Linked DNA regions of Homo sapiens: region 2 is linked to region 1. Evidence: promoter capture Hi-C in 16 types of primary human blood cells and fetal thymus (Javierre and others, 2016). All regions are on one chromosome and are shown on one strand. Each heading gives the region's core, a stretch centred on a gene start or on the middle of the fragment in contact. The rest is flanking DNA. Distances are from core to core; before and after follow the strand shown. Region 1 holds the start of CLRN1-AS1 (CLRN1 antisense RNA 1). Region 2 overlaps MED12L (mediator complex subunit 12L).

Region 1 (6,325 bases), core at 1,699-4,198:
AACCACCGTGTCAAAGCAAAGGGTGAGGTTTTAGGCCTCAAAGGGTGAGTCTCACCCTTTCCACTCAGGGATCTTTTATGTCATAGAGCAGTGGGTTTGATTTGGTTTTGTTTTAAATCAGGAGTAGACATAGGTTTGCCAGTTTCTAAATTTGTCAAATAAAATCATTAAAAATTCAACTACCATTATCTCATTAAAGAAAGAAAATTTCAACAATAAAAATTAGGAAGGGCCTAACTTCAGGATATAAGAGTAACTCAGTATGTTGTATTTATTTTTCCCATGTCTCTACAGACGAGTGAACATGTCGCTACAGACTGATGCAAACTGATGCAACTGATGTGATCTAATTGCTCTCTACACCCATAATCAAGGCTTTCCTCCTTGGACAGCTTTAGATATACTTGGCTGAGTTTGGGTTAATTAAACCGCTGTCCTATGCTAACTATCCTTCTCTTGCCATATCCTTTAGTAGAGGTTATTAATAGTATTGATTAAGTTGTAGGTGATTTCTTCTCCCAGGCTTTGGAAATGTTCTGTCTCTTCCAATTACAGAATATGTTGATTTAGTAAGCTCAGCTCTGCTTAGACATCTTAAACTAAGTTTTCTAGGGTGACTGTGGCACATATATGCCCAAATAACCACTTATCAGGGGCACTGGCACCCCCTTGTTTTGCTAGTGGACCATGATAGCGATTATTCTAAATCCAGTGGTGAATTCATTGGAGGGCCAAATAAACTGAGATGAGTTGCTTATTCTGTGTTCTAGCAATTATTCTAAATCCAGTGGTGAATTCATTGGAAGGCCAAATAAACTGGGATGAGTTGCTTATTCTGTGTTAAGTTATACAAAATAAAAAAGACTTACTAATATTGTAAACTTTATTTTAAGTGCCTCTTTGGAATCTTCTATATGCCCAGTTCTTCTGTGGCCATGTTTTATATTGCCCCTCTTCTCCCCGAAGGTACATTGGCATTCTAGAATGAGTTCTATACTTAGTTGTCTGTCCTTAACGAGACTGGCTGTTGCGACTCCTAGGAGAGGCGAGCTGTGAGAGAAGTTTACCAGTACTCCGAGTCTATACCTCAAAGTTCCCTTCGAAGTGTGCATAATGTAGAGACTCATTTATGCTGAAAATGGTGTGAAATAAGTCTTCATTTATTAATTTCCTCTAAGCTGTCATGCTTAAAGGTGGATCAAAAGAATAGAAGCTAGCATACACATGTGCTTTTGGCCAACTGAAAAAGTTCTATTTACTGATGTCTGTGTTCTTCAAACACTCAATATGTGTAACTAATAATGGGCTAGTCTGCCCCTGTTACTCCTAGACGAACCCAACCCAAACTGAAATGTTTGCCATCTTTTCAAGGTCAGGGGCTTTGCTTGGAATAGAACATCAACCTCAGAAGTAGAAGACCTGGATTTGAATCCCAGCTCCACTACTCTCTTCAGCAAGTTGCTTAAACTCTCTGAGCCTCAATTCCCTTATATATAAGATACGAATAATTGCTTTTTCTTCTTCTTTCTTCTTTCTTATTCTTCTTCCTTCTTCCTTTCTCCTCCTCCTCCTCCTTCTTCTCCTCCTCCCTCCTCTTCTTCTTCCTCTTCTTCATTACTTTATATGCTAATTATGAGAATTACATATGATAATTTAGGTAGAATACTTCACAAGTTGCCAGACATAAGTTCTTACTAAACATTAACTTTGTAGGTCAGAGCTCAGGACAATAACATGGCATATAATAAACATTCACTAGACACTTCACACACACACACACACACACACACACACACACACACACACACACAGTCCTGTGTCTGTAGAAGGAGGAATCTCATTGGAAATGCAAAGTTAAAAAGCTGTTACTGAATTCTGAACTTTAGTTTCCAGGTCTTGACCGTTTAACCAGACCTACCTGCTGCTTAATCTTTGCTCATAACTGTCTCTAGTCTCCCAAACAGATTACCTTTGCTGAGACCTGTGCATTTTTATGATGAATCCATAGAGTCACCTATCTGACCACCATCCCTCTTTCCATCAATATGCCCTTATCTTTACAGATCCTGGTATTCCTTGGACCCAGAAACACATTCCCTTGCTATTATCCTAAAGCAGCTAAGCCTGTTAAAGGAAAGCATTTAGAAATCTAGATATCTGCTCCTGCATTTTCATATTTCTGTATGCCAAGAAAAATTTGAATCAAATTCTCTATTGATACATTAGGTATAAACCATGGATCTGGGAGAAATTAAGTTGGAAGGACAAGGACCCATGGTTGATCCAGAGCACTTAATATTCGTGTAGGACCAAATTCTGTTTAATATTTTTATCCTGCTGTAATTAAAAATTTTTGACATCAACTATCAATACAGGTACATATGTTCTCCCTACCTCTGCTAAAGCTCCTTCCCCCACCACCAAAAACAATAACAAACAAAAAACAAAAATAAAAACATCGATAAGTGAACTTCTCAAGTTGCTGAAAATGTACCATCAGATTCAAGCCTGTTTCTGAAAGTTTCAACTCACCCAATCAGACAAAAGGCTGAGGAAGGGAAACATTTATCAAGTTACACTGAGGACTCCATCTGTTATCTTCGACCTTTGTTACCAAGTGACACAGAGGAGATACTTGAAGGCAGTTTGAAAGACTTGTTTTACAGATTCTTAGTCCAAAGATTTCCAATTAGGGAGAAGAAGCAGCAGAAAAGGAGAAAAGCCAAGTATGAGTGATGATGAGGCCTTCATCTACTGACATTTAACCTGGCGAGAACCGTCGATGGTGAAGTTGCCTTTTCAGCTGGGAGCTGTCCGTTCAGCTTCCGTAATAAATGCAGTCAAAGAGGCAGTCCCTTCCCATTGCTCACAAAGGTCTTGTTTTTGAACCTCGCCCTCACAGAAGCCGTTTCTCATCATGCCAAGCCAACAGAAGAAAATCATTTTTTGCATGGCCGGAGTGTTCAGTTTTGCATGTGCCCTCGGAGTTGTGACAGCCTTGGGGACACCGTTGTGGATCAAAGCCACTGTCCTCTGCAAAACGGGAGCTCTGCTCGTCAATGCCTCAGGGCAGGAGCTGGACAAGTTTATGGGTGAAATGCAGTACGGGCTTTTCCACGGAGAGGGTGTGAGGCAGTGTGGGTTGGGAGCAAGGCCCTTTCGGTTCTCATGTAAGTAGCAATTGCATTTGAGTTATTTAATGCTTTAGGCAGACTCTTCCCAGTGTTGCGAGGAATTATATTTGAGAATTTTGCCGTGTTTACTGCAGGACTTTTTAAATCGGTGTGAACCATATGAAAAACCTATGACTCTGAGCAATTTCTTCTTCCTAGTTTTTATTATTTTATACTTGCTTTTTATTATAATATAGAGTTAATTCATTGTTACATAATTAAGGTTTTTGGAAATATTGGCAATTAAGATGCTTAAGTATTAATATTTATGTAAAAAATTATGGAGTCTTTTTAAAAAAGTAAACTTGGGGAAATAGGAAAGCTGTAAAGAATGATCTTTATGCTTTTTGTTCTTTATAAAAAGAACCAAGGTCATGGGCTCCGTATTTAACCAGGTTGCCACCTTTCTCATGATTTTGTTTCCTGCTCCCCACTCCCTCCCATTATTCCTGCTAAGACCTTTCCTGCTGCTAAATATTCAGTTTTCATTTTTAACTAATTTGGAATCATTTGGCTATAGAAATTTAAAATGATCTGCTGTGCTAACTGGGAAAGAAATGGATGCCTATTTAGTATAGAACATTTTAAACTGATTGACCTGCAAATCATGTAGAGAATATGAGAGAGATTTTCTTGTTGTGATTTTTGTGAAATGGAAGTGTAATCCACAGTATTTATAACCTGTTTATCTTAAGAAGAGAATTTTTAAAAATTACCATGTGAATAGGCAACTCATTAAATGAAAATTAATAGGAAGTCATTTGTTATATCTCTTACAACACACATTCAGAAGTTATTATTATTTCAGAAGGGCTGGTTTGGAACAACCTTATGAAGACACAGTCAGTAAATTACTGCATAAATCACTCTTCAGGAAAGGAGGTTACCAACTGAAGCATTTAAAATGAATTATTATTTTGCCCAGGTTTTTTTTTTCTTTCTAGTATAGGTAGAAGGCTAAATTAATTGAATTTATTATTAACATATGCAGTGCCTAATTAAATTTCAGTGCTGGTCTATTTATATTTCTGCAACATTCCTTATATCTTCTTAGCAGTCATTGGACACCAACCTTCAGCTCACATAGGTTACTAAGTGATATGAATTTTCATAGGGCTCCAGAAAATTTCCAAGAATTGGTTGTTAGCTTTTTAATTGATGAAGTGGATACCAGTTCTTTTCACTGAATGGCTTTTATTCATTAAGGTAATGGGGCTGTTAGAGTTGCTTAGTTTTCCTGGGGAAGGGGAAGGAAGAAAACAAAGCAGAATGTCATGTGATATGCAACTGTATTAAAAAACCGAAAAGGAAAAAAGTTGAGAGAGATGATTTAACCGTGAGTCACCGGCAGCCAAAGCGTGAGTAAAGCTTCTCACAGATGAATTTAGACAAAAGCGGAGAAGGTACTGGTGAATTTTCTGGAGCCTTTACATTTTCTACAGTGAAATGGAGATAAACTTTACTCATGCCATAGGACATGTTTCAAAACAATAATAAGATGTTTTCTGAACACTTACTACATACTAAGCACTTTATATGCTTTGTCTCATTTAATCCTTACACAGCCACATTCTTCTGGGGTTTAGCGAATGATTTTTGTGGTTGTGTCCTATGCTTGTCCTGTCTAAGGATGAAGTTGTTCTAATTGGGTGCCCCTCCTTTTGCTTTCTGTGAGGACTTGCAGAACTGGTGGGGTTTAAACAGTACCCTCACTTATCTCACAGAATTTCATTAGCTCCCAGATACCCCTGACATTCTCCCCCTAGCCTAGTGAAGAAAATCTTCCATTTACTTGTTCATTCTGCAGTGACAGCTCCATCAATATACAATAGACTATACATATTAAGTGTACTGTATATACTATACATGTTAAAAATCTCATTCATTTTGGTGAGGCCCAGCTAAGAATACTTACAGTAGAGCTTTTTTTTTTTTCCTAAGCATAAAAGTATCTTTTTCAATGCAGCATGAGACAGAGTTGGGAAAACCAAAATAAATAGATCCAATGGACTCCCCAAAGAGGATAATATTCATTTAAATAAACACCCCTCTCAGTGTTAAAACTTTCTAATCAACATGCCTTTGGGACACATTGCACCCTCAAAGTTTACACTCCCATTGCAACGCAGCTTTGTGGTTCACGTTTTTTCCATTCAGAATGTCATTACCCTGTCAATGATGTTTCATCAACGTTTGCTTGGATGAGAATCCTCTGATATTCTTCCTGATAGAAATGTATAAGCCCTGTTCATATAAATGAATAAAAGATCTAACCTTACTTTCTCAGTAGTGGCTTCCTTGGAGCAAAAAGCAGGGACCTCCAGAGAGCTCAGGTGGATGACTCTTTTCTGTTTCTTCCAGAGCTCAACTTACAATTAGTGCACAATTCATTTCCCAGAATGTCTTCTTTCTTATTGTGCCTTTAGAAAGTTATTAAGCAAACATTTGAATTCACAGAATCTTACCAGTGTAAGAGGAATGGAAAAGGTAACTTATCAAGGTAACAATCACTTCGTGGCCAGTTTTTTCGGCTCACTGCAACTACCCCTCCTGGGTTCAAGCGATTCTCCTGCCTCAGCCTCCCAAGTAGCTGGGACTACAGGCGTGCACCACCATGCCCAGCTAATTTTTTTTTTGTATTTTTAGTAAAGACAGGGTTTCACCATGTGGGCCAGGCTGGTCTCATGGCAAGTTTTCTTTGTGTTGTCATGTTATTATCAATTAATAGGAATTTATATTTCAGTTCTGTTAGGTGGATAAACACTATTTTGCATACCTAAATGTTTCATTTATATCAGCACTGGCCAATAAAAATATACTATAAGCAGGCCGGGTGCAGTGGCTCACGCCTGTAATCCCAACTTTTGGGAGGCCAACACTTTGGGAGGACACAGGGTCAGGAGATCGAGACCATCCTGGCTAACCTGGTGAAATCCCGTCTCTACTAAAAATACAAAAAATTAGCCGGGCGTGGCGGGGGCGCCTGTAGTCCCAGCTACTTGGGAGGCTGAGGCAGGAGAATGGCACGAACCCGGGAGGTGGAGCTTGCAGTGAGCCGAGATCTCGCCACTGCACTCCAGCCTTGGTGACAGAGCAAGACTCTGTCTCAAAAAAAAAAAAAAAAAAAAAAAAAAAAAAATATATATATATAT
Region 2 (6,481 bases), core at 436-2,935, 160 kb before region 1:
ATAACTTTACACTGTAAAACCTGGTAAGTGCTACCTCAGCCAGGTGATCAAGGTTAACATCAATAGTCATAAGTCATGGTGATAGCATGTACCCTTGATGTAACATGATGAGAATGACATTTGACTTCTGTAACCCTGGTCTAACCATAAGAAAAATATCAGACAAATTCCAACAGAAGATAACCCTACAATATACCTGACTAGTACTCCTCAAAACTGTCAAACATCACTGAAACTGAGAAAATGTCACAGCCAAGAGAAGCCTAGGGAGATATGAGAACTAAATGTAATATAATATCCTGAATAAGATCCTGAAATGGAAAAGGGTCATTAGGTTAAAACTAAGGAAATCCAAAGTATGGACTGACTTTTATAATAATCAATATTGGTTCATTAATTATAATAAATGTATCATATTAATGCAAAATGTTAATAATGGGAGAAACTGTTTGCAAGGGTGAGAGAATGCATGGGAACTCTGTACTATCTTCTCAATTTCTCTGTAAATCTAAAAAGTTTTTTTAACATTTTTGAAATAAAAACAAGGGACTGGCCAAACTGTGGTACATCCACACAATGAAGGACTAAGAGGCCACAAAAAGGAACAGAGAACATCAAGTAATCACTAGGATATTGTTAAGTTAAAAAAAAAGGCAAGGTATCCAACAGTATATATAGTATGCTAATTACTATGTAAGGAGAAAGAAGAAATAAGAAGATATAAGTATTTGCATATTTTTTGCAAAAATAAAAACTGGAAGATTAAAAACTAGTAAGAAATGGTTACATCTGAAGATGGGGTAAAGGGAATTGTGTGAAAAGATGGAGATAGAAGCAAAACTTCTGCACATCTTTATATAGTTTTGACTCTTGAATATGTCAAGGTATTACATATTCAAAATATAAAATTAGTTCATAAGGGAAAAAAATCAAACCCTAAAATGGAAAACAAACTGAAACAGTGTACCTTACTGCAGAGAGAATCATTTTAAGTGAAACACAGTGTAAAGCTTAAAAAAAAAAAATTTCACATACTTTTAATGTATCAGATTATAATTCTCAAGCCAATATGTTTGTAGCAAGATGAAGCAGGTAAGTAACCATGTTCATTTACTAGAAATCATTTGATTGTTCATGTAATAGAAATGAAATAAACATAAAATTGAAGAAATTACTAAAAACTCTTTCTTGTTAAATAGGAAATGCTAAAGATAAGCTGGAAATAGGAAAACCCCCACATACATGCACACACATGCAGATATGTGTGTCTCCATCCATTTACCCACTGATGGGGCCTAGACACAACATCCCAGTAGCAATGAGCACCTTTAGCACCCAGATCTTGCTTTCTAAATACCATTCCCCACTAGAAAGAAGCAGAGTTCCTTAGACAAAAGGCTCTTTGGAGATCTGAGGCAGGAAAATTACAAGCGCCTGGGACATCTTTCTGTGCCAGAAAGCAAGGAGATGTCCCATGACAAATGGTGTCATGTCAAAAGTTTACAAGGAGCTAGAAGGGTCTCTGGCCAATTTTGGGGCAATTTTAACACGAAATTTAACAGAAGTGTACTTGGTTGTAAAATACAGAATAAATAAAACTTCATGAGCCCATAACAATGATCAAAAATAAACTTTTTTTCGTTCTTTTTTTTTTTTTTCTTTTTTTTTTTGAGACGGAGTCTACCTCTGTTACCAGGCTGGAGTGCAGTGGTGCGATCTCAGCTCACTACAACCTCCGCCTCCCAGGTTCAAGCGATTCTCCTGCCTCAGCCTCCTGAGTAGCTGGGATTACAGGCACATGCCGCCATGCCCAGTTAATTTTTGTATTTTTAGTAGAGATGGGGTTTCACCATGTTGGCCAGGATGGTCTTGATCTCCTGACCTCGTGATCCACCCACCTTAGCCTCCCAAAGTGCTGGAATTACAGGTGTGAGCCACCGCACACAGCCTAAACTTTTTTAATAAATAAAAAAATAGAGAAACATTTTTCACCACTGTGGAGATGCAACAATTTCTACTCCCAAAATTGAAATCAAAGGAAAAGAATTTAGCATTTATTCTGCCTTTTTTAGAAAGAACTGTAATTTATCACATGAGAGAAAGCCCTCATTTACTGAAGAATGCCTACATCTTGCCATTCCCAAAGAAATAACTATTCCAGGCTCAGTTCATCAACAGATGTTAAAACTTTTAGGTAAAAGATTATTGAGGAATGGAATAGCTGCAGGTACCAAAGTCTCACCCCCAATAGCCCCATTCCTTCTATTGGAGAATGGTTTTTACCAGATAGCCAGAGTTACCTCACCGGTTAAAACCTATTTTTCATGCCTAAGCAAAGTGTGAATTTAAACTAAGCTTATACAAGCACTTCTGTCCAATCTTCAGGATTACTTTCAGCATAAACAAGGCAGATATCGCCTTTATGACAAATGAGATAGAAGGAACACTGTGAAAATGTGGAGGCAATCTTGACAAAACTAAACGCTTGTCCCTGGAATCAAAAAAGTTAGTATGCAATGTCTTCACAGACCCAAACTGCAAGTAAGCTGGTAGGCTTAGATAAGAAACCAGACTGTCAATTATGAGTTTAGCAGGACTTATTTTTGCAGTCCAAATGGCTCAGTGAATATGTCACAAATTAATTACCCACTGTGAAAGAAGGGTGGCTGTTTATTCTTTGTATTTTGGGAGCGATAAGGATAGTGGTTACAAGAGTATAGTCAACCAAGAAAAGTCTCTCATCTGACTCAAATCCCCACAAAACCTCAGGTGGCACAGAGGAAATGACTAGGGGTAAACAGAGCAGTGCCCCAGGCAGTTTAACCACGAAGCATTTTAAGCTTCTTTGAATCTATCTGTTCCCCCAAAAAAGACCTCATGCGCATGATATGTCTTGTCACTTTTCACCATATTGAATACCCAAAAATTCCTAGGCAGAATTAAGGCTGCTCATCTTGCAAGCAGTTTCATATTTCTTTCTCTAGTTGCCATGGCACCCTGGACTTTGCTTTGCTCCTCCTGTTCCCCATAGCACCCATGAGAACAAGAGTTCTGACTCCTCAGATGCTGCTCAGAGCCACCAGTCCCGCAGCCTGCTTCCTGCCAGCATCTTTCCACCTAGAGATGCTTGTTGCCTCCAGTGGCCCAGACCCACACCACACACAGGCCACCAGCAGCTATCACCTCACAGCGAGGAGTGAGGAGCAGGCACTCTAGTGGCAGGTGCCTGGGCAGGGATCCAACTCCATCTAGGCCAGCAAGTTACTTAACTTCTCTGAGACTCAGGTCCCTCATACACAAAATGGAATAATGAAACCTACATTGCAAGGTTACAGATAAAGTCTGCAAAGTTCCCAACGGAGTAACACAGGATAATCAATAAATACTGGCTGGTAACAGCAGTTCTAAGTAGCAGTTGTCGCATATTATCAATGGTCTACATTTACTGTATGCCAGTCACTGTTCTAAACACTTTAAAGGTATCGATTCATTTCATTCTTAAAAAGTACTATCAGGCCAGGTGTGGTAGCTCACGCCTGTAATCCCAGCCCTTTGGGAGGCCAAGGTGGGCAGATCACCTGAGGTCAGGAGTTCAAGACCAACCTGGCCAACATGGTGAAACCTCGTCTCTACAAAAATTAGAGGAGCACGATGGCAGGTGCCTGTAATCCCAGCTACTTGGGAGGCTGAGGTGGGAGAATTGCTTGAACCTGAGAGCGGAGGTTGGCGTGAGCCGAGATCACACCAATGCACTCCAGCCTGAGCAACAGAGGAGACTCCATCTCAAATAAAAATAAATAAATAAATAAGTACTGTCAATTATCCTTATTTTTTTACAGACAAGAAACTGAGGGAAAGAGTCATAACAATAATAGTAATAATAAACCCTTCCATGGCTTTTCATCATGCACCAGAGGGAACTCACATATCTCACTCTGGCAAACAAACCTTCACACAGGCTTTCAGCACCTCCCCACTGGTAACTGATGCTCAAGCTGAAGTTAAATCCTGGAGGTGCAACAAGTCAAACTATTTGATAACGTATTTCTCTGCAGACTTCATCCTTCTGTCAGAAATGCCCTTCCCTGAACAACAGCCCACTCCAGCTGTGTCCTCCTAGGAAGCGTCTCTTCTTGCAAAAGTATACACCTAAGTCACTTCCTCTGTGAATCTCCTGGATGTCCCAAGTTCCCTCAGTGGCTTATTCCTTAAGACTTCCTCTGTATTTTCTTCCTGTCACTATGAAGTCTTCCTTCTCTAATATTTGATTGTTTGGATGCATGTCCCCTACTCATACTGCAAATACCTAGAGGGCAGTGATTACACTGTCACACTCTTGTCCTCACTGACCAGTGGTGTCCAGCACAGGCTCTGGAGCCAAGTTTGGACACTTACGCTGAGGGGTTCTGTGCACCACCTGCACATCACCATCCTCATCCACGAAATGAGAATAACGTATCTCTTTCACAGGCTATCTGAATAATAAGTCATAAAACGGACAAAATATACATAGAACCCAGCAAACATTTACTAATGAAATGGGGAACACTGTATCACTGCACAACAGAAGAACCGTGGCAGAGAGCCAATAGACCTGGTGAGGGACTGACCATTTTCAAACAGGCCAAAAAAAAAAAAAAAACAACCCCACAACAGCAAGGGATGGGGCATTCCCATGGCTGACAAGCTTCTCCAAACAACCTAGATCATTACCCAGCACACATCGGGAGCTGATTCAACCTTGAAATGCAGTTAGCACCGTATCCCTGCTTATCACAATACCGGGGATTCCATAAGTGCTCAAGAAATGCTGTTAACAGTGACAGCAATAACAGCAATAAATGCTGTAGTTATTATTAGTTGATTCAGCAACAATAAGACTCCTCATGGGGAAAATTCCTATAAATAAATGTACAAAATTCCGTTATTTACTATAAAGTCATATTTCCTAATCTGTTCAAAGACTTCAATTGCATAACTCAATGTGAGTTTTACTTTTTCATTTTTAAGTATTAGCTAGCCTGTTTTAAATAATTTTCTCTGGTGAGCTCAAAATATTTAAGGCAGCTGAACAATCTTGTTCTCTTAAAAATGAAACTTAATTCAACTCTAAAAATATCTGAAACCGAACATGCATTATTTCTGGCGTACTCTCCCTCAAGTAGCAACATCAACTATTTCATGACATTTTCTAAACATCGTGTCCACCTAAACCTTTTTTTTTTTTCAGGTCTCACAAGGACTAAGAATTACAAACTCTTCTTTCAGGCTTCCCTAATTCCCCTCTATTTAAAATCTCTGTCCTGATACTCAGATTTGTCCAAGTCAAATATTTCATTACCCACTTTGAAGTTACACATGAGACCTCACTCAGAAACCCAAGGCGCTTCTCACTCCTCTCACTTTTGTGTATACAGTGTACTGGGTACATCTTTGCTGACTGCAAGCTCCCCAGGGCAGCAACCCATTTAATCTACATTTGAGATCTGTAACTCTCTGCATAACGACAGTAAGGATCTCTGTGTTGCTCCTTGTTGCTGTGAGCCCACTTAACTTTGGGAAAAGTTCCCTTCAATAAAATCAAACAGCAGTGCTTTATAGCTCTGCTCCAATGCTGAAAGTAGGAACTGAAAATAAAACACGTTTCTATTACAAAGGAATAAAAGTCATTTCTACCGAAAACACTTTACAAATCCTAATAACAATCATCAAGACAACGGAAGTCATAAAACCAATGCCAGAAAAGGATGACACTTGATAGTCAATCTTTTCCCAAACGTGCTGAATGATTCTTTTTGCTATCAATGCCAGAACACAGAACCTATTACTAGAAGTTAATCTTCTGAAGTGTATGTGATTTAATCCAATTCAACACATATATATGTGTGTACTCCCTTGGCTGTATCCCTTGCTAGGAGTGTGAAACTTGCTACATTACATTATGGCTATGTCTACACAGCCAAATGCTTTCAAATATACTGTATAATTTGCTTTTAAAAGTTGAAAAAGCTGCTGACGACAAAGGCGAATGTCAGAGGTATCAGGTGTAACAAAGTGATAGTAAAACAAGATTAGATATTTGGAAAACATGCTCTTTTCATATAGTATAAACAGAATCCTTCATTTTCAATTAAAATACATATAAGAATATAGAGAAAGGAACTGTATATTTACACAGGTAAATTACTAATTACAAAGGGTAGAATAGTAACTTTGAAGGAGAAAAATCCGATAGACACCACCTTACCCAAATCATCAAAGTTACCACCATCAGTATTGGGATATGATACACTGATACATTCACAGCATCACCTCCAGGCTATTCCAAGCAAAGGTATGTAACTTAAATCTATTAATGAGAAACTGGAGAAAGGAAAAATCAATGGACAGTCTACAAAATAACTGGTGTGCCTCCTTCAAAAATATCAAGGTCAAAAGAAAATGGCTAATGAACTGTTCTAGATTAAAGACAACTAAAAAA

The links. Contacts are between HindIII fragments. The CHiCAGO score rates a contact against its expected background, and 5 or more counts as called.
Region 2: a contact is called between a fragment that was not itself captured here and the fragment with the promoter of CLRN1-AS1 in region 1, in 1 of 17 cell types (endothelial precursors). The highest score is 5.6, in endothelial precursors.

Annotation. Positions count from the first base shown.
Region 1 is chr3:150,969,301-150,975,625 of GRCh38, reverse strand. It overlaps CLRN1-AS1 (CLRN1 antisense RNA 1), which reads right to left and starts at 2,948. Exons shown (of 6, transcript NR_024066.2): 1 at 2,533-2,948. It overlaps CLRN1 (clarin 1), which reads left to right and starts at 2,899. Exons shown (of 3, transcript NM_174878.3): 1 at 2,899-3,170. The coding sequence starts at 2,918. The HindIII fragment of the contact is 6,166 bases long and covers 1-4,543 here.
Region 2 is chr3:151,132,350-151,138,830 of GRCh38, reverse strand. All of the region lies in intron 5 of MED12L (mediator complex subunit 12L), which reads right to left. Among named protein-coding and RNA genes, the nearest start is that of MED12L, 50 kb to the right of the region's middle. The HindIII fragment of the contact is 1,345 bases long and covers 1,013-2,357 here.